Regions from separate parts of the Homo sapiens genome. Here region 2 is linked to region 1. Evidence: promoter capture Hi-C in 16 types of primary human blood cells and fetal thymus (Javierre and others, 2016). All regions are on one chromosome and are shown on one strand. The core of a region is centred on a gene start or on the middle of the fragment in contact, and the rest is flanking DNA. Distances in the headings are between cores, read along the strand shown. Region 1 holds the start of LIN28B (lin-28 RNA binding posttranscriptional regulator B). Region 2 has its middle 21 kb from the start of PREP.

The links. The method cuts DNA at HindIII sites, captures the fragments that hold promoters and counts their contacts. A CHiCAGO score of 5 or more calls a contact.
Region 2: a contact is called between a fragment that was not itself captured here and the fragment with the promoter of LIN28B in region 1, in 1 of 17 cell types (fetal thymus). The highest score is 5.2, in fetal thymus.

The regions. Positions count from the first base shown.
Region 1 is chr6:104,954,356-104,961,580 of GRCh38, reverse strand. It overlaps LIN28B (lin-28 RNA binding posttranscriptional regulator B), which reads right to left and starts at 4,474. Exons shown (of 4, transcript NM_001004317.4): 1 at 4,321-4,474; 2 at 3,295-3,482. The coding sequence starts at 4,330. RefSeq lists enhancers at 3,586-4,523, 4,524-5,461. The HindIII fragment of the contact is 2,336 bases long and covers 4,101-6,436 here.
Region 2 is chr6:105,420,042-105,427,266 of GRCh38, reverse strand. No RefSeq gene overlaps it. Among named protein-coding and RNA genes, the nearest start is that of PREP, 21 kb to the right of the region's middle. RefSeq lists an enhancer at 2,797-2,846. The HindIII fragment of the contact is 2,701 bases long and covers 1,269-3,969 here.

The sequences.
Region 1 (7,225 bases), core at 3,225-5,724:
AAAATACAAAAAATTAGCTAGGCGTGGTGGCGGGCACCTGTAATCCCAGCTACTCAGGAGGCTGAGGCAGAAGAATCGCTTGAACTCGTGAGGTGGAGGTTGCAGTGAGCCGAGATCTCACCACTGCACTCCAGCCCGGGTGACAGTGTGAGACTCCACCTCAAAAAAAAAATAAAAGAATTTAGACGTAACAAATTTGTATTAACCACGTATATCCTTACTTCATTTGAAACAAATCTGTGTTTGTATTACTCGAGAAATTCTTAAATATATTTAAAAATAAAATCATCAAAATTGTCCTATTTTATTAAACATTTTTTAAAAACTTCAACAGTGAGATATGACAAAATTCACAAATATAATACTTACATATTTTGTTAATTTTTTAAAAATAAAATATTCATTATTGAACTATATCAATGTTTCACAATTAACATGGGTCAGAATATATATTTTCACATCATAAAAATATGATTATTTAAATTACAAATTAACATTAGAAAATCAAATGAAGACTGTCATTTTAAACCATCAATGGTTACATACCATCCTCAAATAGCAGAATCTCACAGCATTTATCAACATGTCTAAAGAGAGACTAAAGAGAGACAAAGTACAGCACCTAGGCATGTGTTTCTTTTTGAGGATTTGGTGACATCACAGGAACTACAAGAAAGTTTGATGGTATTACTGCCAATAAATTTTAAGTAGAGTTATGTAACTATAAATATACATAACTACAAATACACAGCTCAATTTTAAAACACACACATATATATATTCTCTTTATTTTGAAGCAACTGAATATGTTTTGATATGCTGTTACATGCAATCAATATTTTTAAGAGAAAAAGTATCCTAGGTTCCTCAGCATAAATTTTTATGTATTTATTAAGGACACAAATAATTTGTTTTTTATTTCTCCAAATATACATTATTAAAAATGTTTCAGAATACTTCAAAAAAAAAATCCAGTGACACATGTACTTCCAAACACTTCAAAAAAAACTATGTCATATATTTTAAAAATTTTGAGTAGACATAGGTCCAGTTGAACATTTAAAATTCCTAATCACCTATGATACATATCCTTTCACAACAAAATAGTACATAGACATAAAACCTGGTATGTTTTCAAAAATGCTTATAAAACTAAAAAGGCCTCTAAAATAATAATAAAAATGTTTTTTAAAATTCTATGAAATCGTCTTGAATTGCAACCTTATTCCATAAGTGATGCACACATAATACCTGTATCATTTACAACCATCTGTTACTTGTAGTTGCTTAGCTAACATCAGTAGGATTCCTGCCTTCTTCAAAACAATTATTCATACAATTTATATACAATTTATGTATATTACAATATAAGAAACCTCTTTAACTAGGCATCATTTAATACTGTCCTTTTAATATATACATGAACTGTATGTATATACTACTGTATGTAACTGAATATTAAGTCAACTATTTAAAAATCAATGTTTATAGTATAGAAACAGCTATATATTTAAAAAACTTCAGCAGCTACATGTTTTAATTCAGTGAATAGAGGAATGTTTATCAATATATAATCATTAAATAGTATAAACACAAATGTCTTGTTGTTCTAAACATTAACATTGGTTAATAAAATATCTTAACATTTGATGAATATTTTAGAAGGTAAACATAGAAAATCAAATTATAAAAAGGCGTGACCAGACAAAGAAGGGTTATTTTTTTCATTCATCTATAAAACAAATTTATGAGATCATAAAAAACAATTTAACAACCTAAAGAAGGTTCAAAGGTGGAAGAAAGAGCCTGAGAGAAAATGGATTTGTCTATGATTTTTGTCATCCAGTCTTAGAGGGGAAAAAACAGAAAATGTAGCTTCATTTTGCACTATAAAATAGGAAGCATAAAATCCAGTAGTCTGTATGTGGACTTGTATTTGTGTACTTAAACCCTGTTTCAATTCACAGATTATGCTGATCCTTCCACATATAAACAGCCAATAATGATGGCCAGGCCTTCAGGAAAGGAAAACACACACCACACAGCAAGGTCAGGAAGCTACCAAGCACCACAGGACAACAGATCAAAACAGAATGGTTTCATATGTTTCTATTGTTTATATATTTAATTTGAAGATGATATTCCTTAGGGAAGGGGGTATAAATATTACTAGGAACATGCAACACAGTATCAAATATATACTTTTCAAGCAAATATACCAAATATTTCACCCATGTATCTGTCAGTCAATCTGTAGTATTAACAGCCTTTCATTCAATTCTTTTTAACTTAGATTATCATGCCAAAATAAACCTCTTTAGTCGTAAACCTCTTTATTTCTAACTACAGAAAATTTATATTTACCTTTTTTTGAGGAAACAACCGGCTTCCATAAAAGTATCTTTTTTACTATAAAGGGATTAAGCAGTAGAGAGGAGTAAAGGCAGAAGTATTAATTCATTATTTCCTGGGTAAAATTTTGAAAATGGGAAGCAATGAAATTCTGTTTGGTATTAAAACATCTTTAAAAATTACAACACAATACGAGCAAAGGTGGAAATTTACCCCAAGTAGCAGACCAGCACATTTTAAACACACAAGCAAGAGCCGCCTCTGGCCACATGTTTTTTTGAGTTCAGTCTCTTAAAGAGACAGTATACGTAGACCAATGACTACACGGAGCACATTTCTAAAATGTTTATCAAGCATCCCTCTATTGCACGCATTTCTTTACAACCACATTAGGCCAACAGTGTTCTATTTTATTTTACTATGAAGTCAAATTATTTTGATCTGAATCTACAAAATGATTACAGGACAGGCAGCGATGAAATAATAAAGGGAGCTACTGTGACTAGAGGTGTCTAAAATAAGGCAATCTATACATTTCTTTCCACAGCAAACTGTTTCGCTTTGTTTTTTCAACCTTAAAATGATCATGTTTCTTCATTTTTCTACCCATTCACCAGATACAGGCGACAAAGTATATTGTATAGGTAATACCGGAAACAACAAGAACACTATTTCGCTGTAGAATGAAGCAGGGGGAAATGCTAATAACGTCAACCTTAATATATATAGTGAAATTTCAAATATTTTCTTTTCTCTTTAGACAGAAAACCCAGGAAAAGGCCCATACACGTACCCTAAACGTTGGACTACCTAGTGATTTCAGGGAAGATTTTGTCTTTCAATATACCGAAGGACATCTTATCGTACGTCTATTGGCATAACTACCGATCAGCTCCTCCACATGGAAAAAGATGAAGAGGGGGACAAAAAAGTTTGGCTTACTTGGTGTACAAATACATCGACTGGAATATCCAAGGGGCTTCCCTCTCGGTTTATCATGGAGATGAATCCAAATCCCATGCGCACATTGAACCACTTACAGTGGCCAGTTCCGCGCAAAACCTGGGATTCCTCCTCTGCCGGCTCCGGCAGCTTCCCGGGCTCTTCTCCACCACCTTTGCTAGCCCCGCCTGAGAAGGAACAGGACAAAAAAGTCAGTCTGTATTCCCATTCAATGTGCATTCAAAGATTAAAAAAAAAAAATTGCCTGCCTGGGGTTGGGGGGGAAGGGTAACAGAAAAAAAAAATTTTTTTTAATGGTTTGATTTCTTTTCTCCACAGAAAATACTTAAAATGAAAAGGGTTAAAAGGAAAGCGGGGGAGGGGGAAGCCACACTGTTCTATCGATCACACCAACTTCCACGTTTCTATACATACGTGTACTTATTCATTTAACTCCATTTTTCAGCCACATTTTACATTACAGCATGCGATACTTTACTTGTATATTGCTGATTTAATACTGATCCCATTGACAAAGAGAAATTTTCAGCGAAACTATTCTCTCCGGCGGGCACGAGGAGGAAAGAGAAATCGTGAAGATGGTTTAGAGCTACTAGTTAAGGCACATGGGGCAGCACTGAATCCAGCGTTATTTGCAATGTGCATTCCCCTCCCCCCCATAACTTTCAATTAAAGTTGGGGTGGAATGGGGGAGGGGGCAGGTGTATAAAAGTTTTCTTGGAATCACTAACTGAAACTGCGCTTAATCACACTCACACAATTCAAACAATAGCCCCCTGAAAGCTTTTCAAGTTGTGAATCAGTGTGGGCGGTACAAAACATTTTTGGAGATCTATAACAATAGGTTTGCAGAAAGCCCCACTGCGTGATGGGGGGTTGGGAGGTAATGCCCAGTATTGGGGTAAAAGGGGAAGGGGGGGACGGTCTAAGAAGGGTGGGAGAGGGGGAGGGGGAGGAGAAAAGAAGAAAGAAATTCACAGTAAAACAATAGAAAAGAAAATTAACCTTCGGCCATGTTGCCCCACGGGCCCTCAGCTCCAAACTCGTGAGATGAAAACTTTCCCTTTGGAACGGAGTGATCTTCTGCATCAATCTAACATCTTGATTTTGTGCGATCACAAATTTAGCTCGCATGGTCTAATGTGCTTTCCTTCTTTTGATTTTTTTCTCTCCTCTCTCCAGTTTCTGGCCCCCTGAGCACACGTGACTTTGTCAATTACATGCTTTCTTGCTACTAATTTCACCTCGTATCCTTAAGGGGCTGGCAAGAGGAAGAGATAACCAATCGCCATTTCATCTATGCTGACATCAAAATAATTTATGAATGAACACGAAAAACTCAAACATGTTATCTTAAAGACAATTTGGAACGCTTCTTTAGGATAAATCAGAATGCTGATTTCGTGCTTCTACTTAAACACAATGGAGGGACCTTGTGAATCATAGATTTAGAAAAAAAGGCAGTCATATATGTGCACACGCGTGCCTTACACACAAGCCTGACTAAAATCATGGGAGGGGGTCGTTTAAATAAAACAACCGATGTTAACGCTTTTTTTCCCCTTAAGAATTCAGCTATTCCATGGCAGTAAACCTGCTTGGAACGCTAATTTCATATTTAATTCAATTCTTAGAGGAAAATATATAATTTATAAAAGATCTAATTAAACCTAATTACATCCCCATGAAACTTTAGATAATGAAAACATACACCTAGGAAAAGGCAGAGGCACATAAATTACCTGATTATGCCCGAAATTTTTTCAAATTTAAAATAAAATCCTACTAGAAAAATCGTTTTCACCTTCATATAGTCAAATTGTGTTTAGGTAAACCATTTTGGAAAATTTTAGAGGGGGTTGGTAAGGAATTGTACTTCACAGGTTTCTCTGCCATCTCTTTCCGGGGGAGGAGATGTGATTAATGACTTCCTAAATAACAGCCCAGTTTTCCAGCCTAACATAGAGTGAACCTCAATCAGTGGCGATTGTTCCCCAAGAGCTGGAGGACATAGGGCAGGAGGGGGAGGGGATCGCCAGGCAGGGGAGGTGAAGAGGAGCCGCCAGGATAGGCGGCAGCAGAGTCAAAGAAAGAGGTGGGAGAGAAAAAAAGCCGGCGCGGGCAGGGGGTGGGGTGGAGAAAGAAGGACAAGTGGGAGAAAAAAGGTAAATTCATATCATATTGACTTGTACCCTGACATTTTAAAAGTCCACTACCAATGGCTAGAAGAGTTGAATAAACGAAAATGTAACAACGGATGAAGCTCCTACTGTCCTTCCTCAACTGACCCCCAGTTTCAAAATGCCTACCCCCTTTACCTTTCAAACTGGTTCAAACGATTGATTACAAGATGCTGGCAACAGTATTTCTGCCCTTATCGAATACTATAATAAATATTATAGATTAACTAAAAAGACTTTATTTCCTTTAAAATATAAAATATCGCTATTTTAAAACCTTAAAATGCACCACCAGACTTGCCTACCCCACCCCCCATTTTCTTAAACAAGCAGTTTACCAAGAAACTAACTGTTCAGATACCACTTCCTTCGACAAAGCTACCGAGTTGACCCTCCCCCACCATGCCAGCAATCCCCCTCCCAGTCTCTTCAAACACATCCACACTCCAGCACTGTTTCACACAAGCTAAAATGTAGGGATTATGAATCGAAGAGCTATGGAAAAAGCTGTATACACCTATTTATACTCCCTCCCCATATTAAACAACTAAATATAAATTTAATTGGCTCAGATTGGAAAATGGATGTATAAAAAATAGAAGTTATTTTCAGCTGTTTTTGATAAAAGGTTTAATGAAAACTAATCAATTTGGAAAGATTTTTTTTTTTGTCTGTTATTCCTTTTGTTATTTCTCAGGAAAAAGGGCTACTTTCTCATTTTATTTATTTTGGGAGGAATAATCCTGTGCCAGCTGTTAGGGAGAAAAGAAAAGGTGCAAAAATCCAATGACTTTGAAAGTTTAACAAAAGCTCAAAGCTCTGAAAAAATTATTTACTAACAAAACATTTACTAGGCATTATTTTGATGGTAGAAATTACTTCTATTATACTGATTACACTGACAAGAAAGTAATCTCAATGATGGCATTACAGGCTAAGCTTGTGACATAATATGAAATCGAGAAAGTAATTTATATTTTTTCATATTTTAATAATCACTTTAAAAAATCAACATCTGGTATAAGAGGAAAAAAATCTCAGAAAGTATTCATGTAAATTGAGGTGAAATGCTATTACTTACATAAAAGTAATGATCACAAAATTCACAGGCCAGTATAGTTTAGCTTTGTAAAATATTCATTTAAGTTTGCTTTTAATTAGAAAACAGTTTAATCATTATAAAACCAGAAGCATAATAATGTAGGTAGATTCAGAATCTGTTTATTGTTAAATTTGATGAAATTCAAATTTATGAACATGTGGGTGAAAAGTGGAATACCATAACTGAACTACACTGTACAGTATAGTTATGAGATTCACAGTCTTGCCTGATTGGGGGCCTCCAGTATTAGTGGAATTAAGGTAAGGTTCACTGGAGTGGTCACTGGTGTCAGAGGTTATCGACTCATTCATTTCCTGAGAGGGACATCAGCCTTTCAAGTTGTGTAGAAGGCTTTTTCCAACTGGTAACCCTGAAAAATCCTCTAAAATTCGTTCATGAAGAATTTAAGACAAATGCATTTACATACCTTGGGGGAGGGTAAAAGAAAGGGGAAGAGAAGAGGCGAGGGAAGGGTAGAGGGAAAAGGAAGAAGAAAGCAAGGAAGTTGGAAAGGGAGAGAAGTAAAGGAAGGAGACACATTGAGAAACACAAAATAATCACTCACCAATTTAAGAATATGGCACTGTTTTTTCTGTGCCTTCCCCCAAAACTTTTGAGCCTAAAATCC
Region 2 (7,225 bases), core at 1,370-3,869, 470 kb before region 1:
CCTCTTCCCTATATAAATTACCCAGTTTTTGGGTATGTCTTTATTAGCACCGTGAGAACAGACTAATGCAGGCTCCATCCATACCAAACTCTCACACTCCTTCACATACATCCCTTGTACACAGCCCTCAGCATTTCCATAGGGTGCTCCCTTAAACTCTGCACCTAGCTGCTCACCCCCGCTACTTCTGATCTGTACCTCGTTACTTCTTACTCATTTCTCAAATTCAATTTAGACATTACTACCTTGGGTCACCCTTCTCTATCCCTCCAAGACGAAGTTAGATGACATCTGTGCTCCCACAGCATCCTGTCCTATAGATCCAACTGCACTAGATTAGAGTTACCTCCCAAATCCAGGCTCCATAAATCTCTAGCTTCTAGCATGGTACCTGGAATGTGGTAAGCACTCAATAAATATTTATTAAATGAAAGACTTGCTCCTGAAGTGGCCATCGAAATCCTAATATAGTAATCTGAGATCATGTTTGAGCACAAGTCAACATATGTTCATCTTTTTATAATTCCATGTTTAATTCAGTGTCCTGTGTATAGGTGTTACCCATATATATCTGTTAAGTGACTACCTTTTTTGAGAAAGACTTATATTTTTGTTTGTTTGGTCAGTTGGTTCTTGAGACAGGGTCTTGCTCTGTCACCTGCGCCTCAACCTCCCAGGCTCAAGTGATTCTCCCACCTCAGCCTCCTGAGTAGCTGGGACCACAGGCACATACCACCATGCTAGGCTAATTTTTTAAAAATTTTTATAGAGACAGGGTCTCCCTATGTTGCCCAGGCTGGTCTTGAACTCCTGGGCCCAAGTGATCCTCCCATCTCAGCCTCCCCAAAGGCTAGGATTATAGGCCATGCCTGGCCATATTTTGTTATTAAAGGGAAAACTCAAAGTGAAATTTTGAGGCCTGATGCACTATTTGCATTTTATCCTTAAAATGGCTCTTTTATCCATTTTCCAACATGTACTTCCATATGCATAAGAAGCATGATTTTTCTTATAAGTGATAATTAGAAAAACCCAGAAAGATCAATTTAAATAAAACAATTAAATACATATAAGAAATGGACGTGCCTTAAAACTGATATGAATAAATCAGAAATATTTTAGGCAAACAGAGTAACATCCAGTCAAGTTTAGAATTGGGGGCTAAAGTGTTCATCTGAAGGATAGAAGATTTTAGTGGGATGTCAAATCCTGTAGGCCAGCAAAATAAAAAAAAAATCTAATCAAGAATTCTTAGACTTGTGAAAGCTTGTTGGAAAGAAGCTAATGGCAATGATGGAAAGGTATGTAGGTATACAGCCACAAACACACAAAACCAAATGTTCTAAGAGAATAGATTCTGAAGAGGTAAGTCAAGAAAGGTAAAAAAGGAATAGAGGGCAAAGAAAATTCTTTTTTTTACGTTTTTTATTTTATTTTATTTTAGGTTCTGGGGTACACACGCAGGATGTGCAGGTTTGTTACATAGGTAAACATGCGCCCTTATGATTTGCTAGACCTATCAACCCATCACCTAGGTATTAAGCCCAGCATGCATTAACTATTCTTCCTGATGCTCTCCCTCCATCCATGCCCTCCACCCTGCCAGGCAGGCCCCAGTGTGTGTTGTTTCCCTCCCTGTGTCTATGTGTTCACATTGTTCAGCTCCTATTTATAAGTGAGAACATGCAGTGTTTGGTCTTTCTGTTCCTGTGTTAGTTTGCTAAGGATAATGTCTTCCAGCTCCATCAATGTTCCTGCAAAGGACACGATCTTGTTCCTTTTTATGGCTGCACAGTATTCCATGGTGTATATGTACCACATTTTCTTTATCCAGTCTATCATTGATGGGCATTTGGGTTGATTCCATGTCTTTGTTATTGTGAATAGTGCTGCAATGAACATACACATGCATGTATTTTTATAATAGAATGACTTATATTCCTTTGGGTATATATCCAGTAATGGGATTGCTGGGTCAAATGGTATTTCTGGTTCTAGATCTTTCAGGAATTGCCACACCATCTTCCACAATGGTTGAACTAATTTACACTCCCACCAACAGAAAAAAGTGTTCCTATCTCTCTGCAGCCTCACCAGCATCTGTTGTTTCTTGACTTTTTAATGATCACCATTCTGACTGGCATGAAATCATATCTCATTGTGGTTTGGATTTGCATTTCTCTAATGATCAGTGATGTTGAGCTTTTTAGATAATCCTATTCTTAAGACTTTGAAGTTTTATGGCAAATTTTGTGGTGCCAGATAAATCCTTAATAACACACCTTGTGTTTGTACTGTACTGTGATGAGAGATTGCCTTATTAGTAGATAATATTTTTAAAAATATTTGTACGTGATTTCTAAAGCAGACTGGAAGCAGACAGTCCTGGGTTAAACACACAGGATGAGTGATCTTGGCAGTTGTAGGTGGTATGCACCAGTGATTTCATAGGAACAGTATTCATCAGAATAGACTGGAAGCAACTGGTATCACTGCAGACTTCTAGGGTACCTCAGGGAATGGTTTCCTAACTCTTTTTAAGGATCTGGGTGACATATTGGCTAACGTACTCGAGGACCAAGAAAGGATCCATGGCTTAGAAACAAGAGTAAACATCAGATATTGGCCGTAGAATTAAATGTCACTGAAAAGATTAAGCCAGGAGCCAGGGAGTAACCTTAAGCAGAGAAGTCTCCCTTTCCAAGAGCCTCATGCTACATTTGCAGAAACTGTCCAAGAGCCTAAGCATCTCTAAGTTCTATATGAATAGGAAACTTCACCAGATAAGGAAAGGAAATCAAGTGCTATAGAGATTGATGAAGCCGTTTATCTAGGGTGAACTTCAAGTACTTGGCAATGGGAGCCCCCCATTTTAGGGTAAATCCGAGTTCAGACCAGCAGAGGGCAGTGTAGCAAACTTTGAAACCTCAAACGGCTGGGACTTAAAGAGAGTATGAATCCAGTACTGAGGGGCTGTTAGTGAAGAAGGGATGAAGGACTATCTGTGGGATCAGGGCTGCCTTGAAAAGATAAAGAAATGGTCAGCACTGCACTCCAGCGTGGGCAACAGAGAAAGACCCTGTCTACAATACAGTACAATACAATACAGTACAATACAAAACACACAGAAATGATCAGGAGTGAACCTACACTTGTGATGTGTAGGTATGAGAAGTGGAACAATTAGGAATTAATCTCCACTTCATTTCAAAGAAGATGGATCAGTAAGCAGCTGGTCCCTTTTTTCTGACTCCAGGAACAGGAAAAGGACCACAACAAGTCACAGTCACTCTTTCGGGAATCTGCAACTGGCACCCCCGATTCTTCTGCCCAGGTGAAATCCTAACACTCAGCTTTCTCCTGCACACCTCTTCTTGATATAGGCTTGACAGGGGGCTGGCACTGTGGTGCTGTGGATCATGAGAAGCCCTTACCTCCCCATCTGCTGCCAGCCCACATAAATGGAGAAATAGCCCACCCTGTTCCAAGGTGGAGAGGACATAAAAACATTGCTTCCTTCCTTACCCACTGGAATTCAAATCATTAGGCTTCCACTTTTAAAAGTGTTGGTATATTATGAGAAATTTGTTTTGTCTCCATATGTGGGTTAGAGAAGGGGACAAGTGAACTATTTTTACTGTGAGTTTTTTCTTTGAGTTTATTGCCCAGTCTAAGCTGTAAAAAGAGGTCCTAGGGGGCATTCAGAATTGCTGTCCCTTAAGCCAGTAGATGGCAAGTGCTGAGAAACACTGCAACTGTAAGACACCAGTATAAACCCAGAAGCCTCACTCCACTAACTCTTGGAAAGAAATGTGTGCAGAAAGACATCCTGAAGACCTGAGTGACCGCTCAGTGAGGGGTCAAAGGAGCTTTCCTACTGGCAGGCTATGGAATACTTTGTCTATAAAAATGGAGATTTCCTTACATTACATGGCAGTTAGCATGCTTACTAGTGATCCACCTCAAGCTTTTACTACTGCAGAACCACCTGTGCCTTGCTTTCTTGCTGGTCCCTAAATAGCATGTCATGGCAGATTGTGAATGCTTTAAGTTCTGTGAGCAGTAATTACTCAGGACCTTCTCCAAGTCCCTCTTTTCTGTTTTACAGTTCACAATTCACAAAAGCTTTGATTTTCCAGGCCCCAAACTCTGGATCTCATACCCTAAATTTGGTGTCTGCCTTTGGAACTTTCAGATTTGGCAGGTTTCAAACCCTAACCAGGTTCTTGGATCTTGGTCCCATAGCATGGCTTTAAGTATTGTCTCCAACCTAAAGGGTGTCCTATTGCCTCCAAGGAGGGCCCCTCGTTCCCTCTGCCACATGTAACTGGCCAATGAGACCAGCCTCTGGTCCCCAAGACCTCCAAAGGGAACTTTGAATTGTCAGCAGCTCAGCGGGGTATCTAGAGAAAACATCCCCTCCATTATATGACAGATAAGTTGACAAAACAGGCCCACAGAGTAGTCTTAGACCACTTGTATCTCTGATACCAGGGTTATGCCAGAAAATTCAAGATCAATTAAACATGAATTTAAAACAATCCATGTCCACCATGACTTTCTGAGTGGACAGAAAATAAGAAATCAATAAATACTGTCTGAGGTTTAAACTTGTACTTAAGTAAGAACACACACATGCACACACATAAGAACATTCCATAAAGACTATAGCATTATGATTTTATATGTACTATTATTTATTAAACTGATGCTCCTAAAAAAGTAGAGGAAAATGCAGTTCTGTTTACTTTTCATAATATTACCTCCAAAGAGCTCTTTTGAGAACTAACATCTCTAGATTTTTTTTTTTTTTTTTTTTTGAGATGGAGTCTCACTCTGTTGCCAGGCTGGACTGCAGTGGTGCGATCTCAGCTCACTGCAACCTCCACTTCCCAGGTTCAAGCAATTCTCCTGCCTCAGCCTCCCAAGTAGCTGGGACTACAGGCATGCGCCATCACGACCAGCTAATTTTTGTATTTTTAGTGGAGACAGGTTTTCACCATGTTGGCCAGGATGGTCTCAATCTCTTGACCTCGTGATCTGCCCACCTCAGCTTCCCAAAGTGCTGGGATTACAGACATGAGCCACCACTCCTGGCCTAACATCTCTAGTTTTAAAGAAAAGTCTATCTGAAGTTTCAGCAATTCCATCAGTTTTACTTTTTCTTTTTCTTCTGTTAAAGTCAAGCAAATATCAATACAGATGTTCCTCAACTTACCATGAGGTTATCTCCTGATAAACCTGTCATAAGTCAAAAATATTGTAAGCCAAAAATGCATTTAATACCCAGATATACCCATTGTAAAGTCAAAAAATGATAAGTTAAACCATCATAAGTTGGAGACCATCTGTAGTTATTATTTAAAAATAGTGTGTATAATATAATCCATTGTGTACATACTCAACAATTTATTCAATCTACTATTGGTGGACATAAGTTTGGTTTCTAGTTTGGTGCTATTATGCACAAATGCTGCCATAAACATTCTTGTATGTATATCCTGGTGCACATGCCCATAAGCTTCTCTTAAAAATACCTGAGTGGGATTACTGATGTAACATATATGAATCTTCAACTTTACTAGGCAAAGCAAAACTGCTTTTCAATGTGGTTTTACCAATCTACATTCCTTCAAGAAGTGCATGAGAAGAATCTCTCTTGTTATACATCCTTCCCCTATACTTGGTATTTTCGGAATTATTGTATCTTTTTTTTTTTTTTTTTTTTTTTTTTTTGAGACGGAGTCTCGCTCTGTTGCCGAGGCTGGACTGCAGTGGTGCAATCTCCGCTCACTGCAAACTCCACCTCCCGGGTTCACGCCATTCTCCTGCCTCAGCCTCCCGAGTAGCTGGGACTACAGGTGCCTGCCACCATGCCTGGCTACTTTTTTGTATTTTTAGTAGAGACGGGGTTCACCGTGTTAGCCAGGATTGTCTCGATCTTCTGACCTCCTGATCTGCCCACCTCAGCCTCCCAAAGTGCTGGGATTACAGCTGTAGCCACCACGCCCGGCCCAGAATTATTGTTTCTAATCTAGTGGATCTGTAATGATACCACACTGTGGTTTAAATGTGCATTTCCCTGATTCCTAGTGAAATTAAGTACTTTTTCTTTTATTTTTTTAATTATACTTTAAGTTCTAGGGTACATGTGCACAACGTGCAGATTTGTTACATATGTATACATGTGCCATGTTGATGTGCTGCACCCATTAACTCGTTATTTACATTAGGTATATCTCCTAATGCTATCCCTCTCCCCACCCCCAACCCCACGACAAGCCCCGGTGTGTGATGTTCCCCTTCCTTTGTCCAAGTGTTCTCATTGTTCAATTCCCACCTGTGAGTGAGAATATGCGGTGTTTGGTTTTTTGTCCTTGCTATAGTTTGCTGAGAATGATGCTTTCCAGCTTCATCCATGTCCCTACAAAGGACATGAACTCATCCTTTTTTATGGCTGCATAGTATTCCATGGTGTATATGTGCCACATTTTCTTAATCCAGTCTATCATTGATGGACATTTGGGTTGGTTCCAAGTCTTTGCTATTGTGAATAGTGCCACAATAAACATACGTGTGCATGTGTCTTTATAGCAGCATGATTTATAATCCTTTGGATATATACCCAGTAATGGGATCGCTGGGTCAAATGGTATTTCTAGTTCCAGATCCTTGAGGAATTGCCACACTGTCTTCCACAATGGTTGAACTAGTTTACAGTCCCACCAACAGTGTAAAAGTGTTCCTATTTCTCCACATCCTCTCCAGCACCAGCTGTTTCCTGACTTTTTAATGATAGCCATTCTAACTGGTATGAGATGGTATCTCATTGTGGTTTTGATTTGCATTTCTCTGATGGCCAGTGATGATGAACATTTTTTCATGTGTCTGTTGGCTGCATAAATGTCTTCTTTTGAGAAGTGTCTGTTCATATCCTTCACCCACTTTTTGATGGGGTTGTTTGTGTTTTTCTTGTAAATTTGTTTGAGTTCTTTGCAGATTCTGGATATTAACCCTTTGTCAGATGAGTAGATTGCAAAAATTTTCTCCCATTCTGTAGGTTGCCTGTTCACTGTGATGGTAGTCTCTTTTGCTGTGCAGAAGCTCTTTAGTTTAATTAGATCACATTTGTCAATTTTGGCTTCTGTGGCCATTGCTTTTGGTGTTTTAGACATGAAGTCCTTGCCCATGCCTATGTCCTGAATGGTATTGCCTAGGTTTTCTT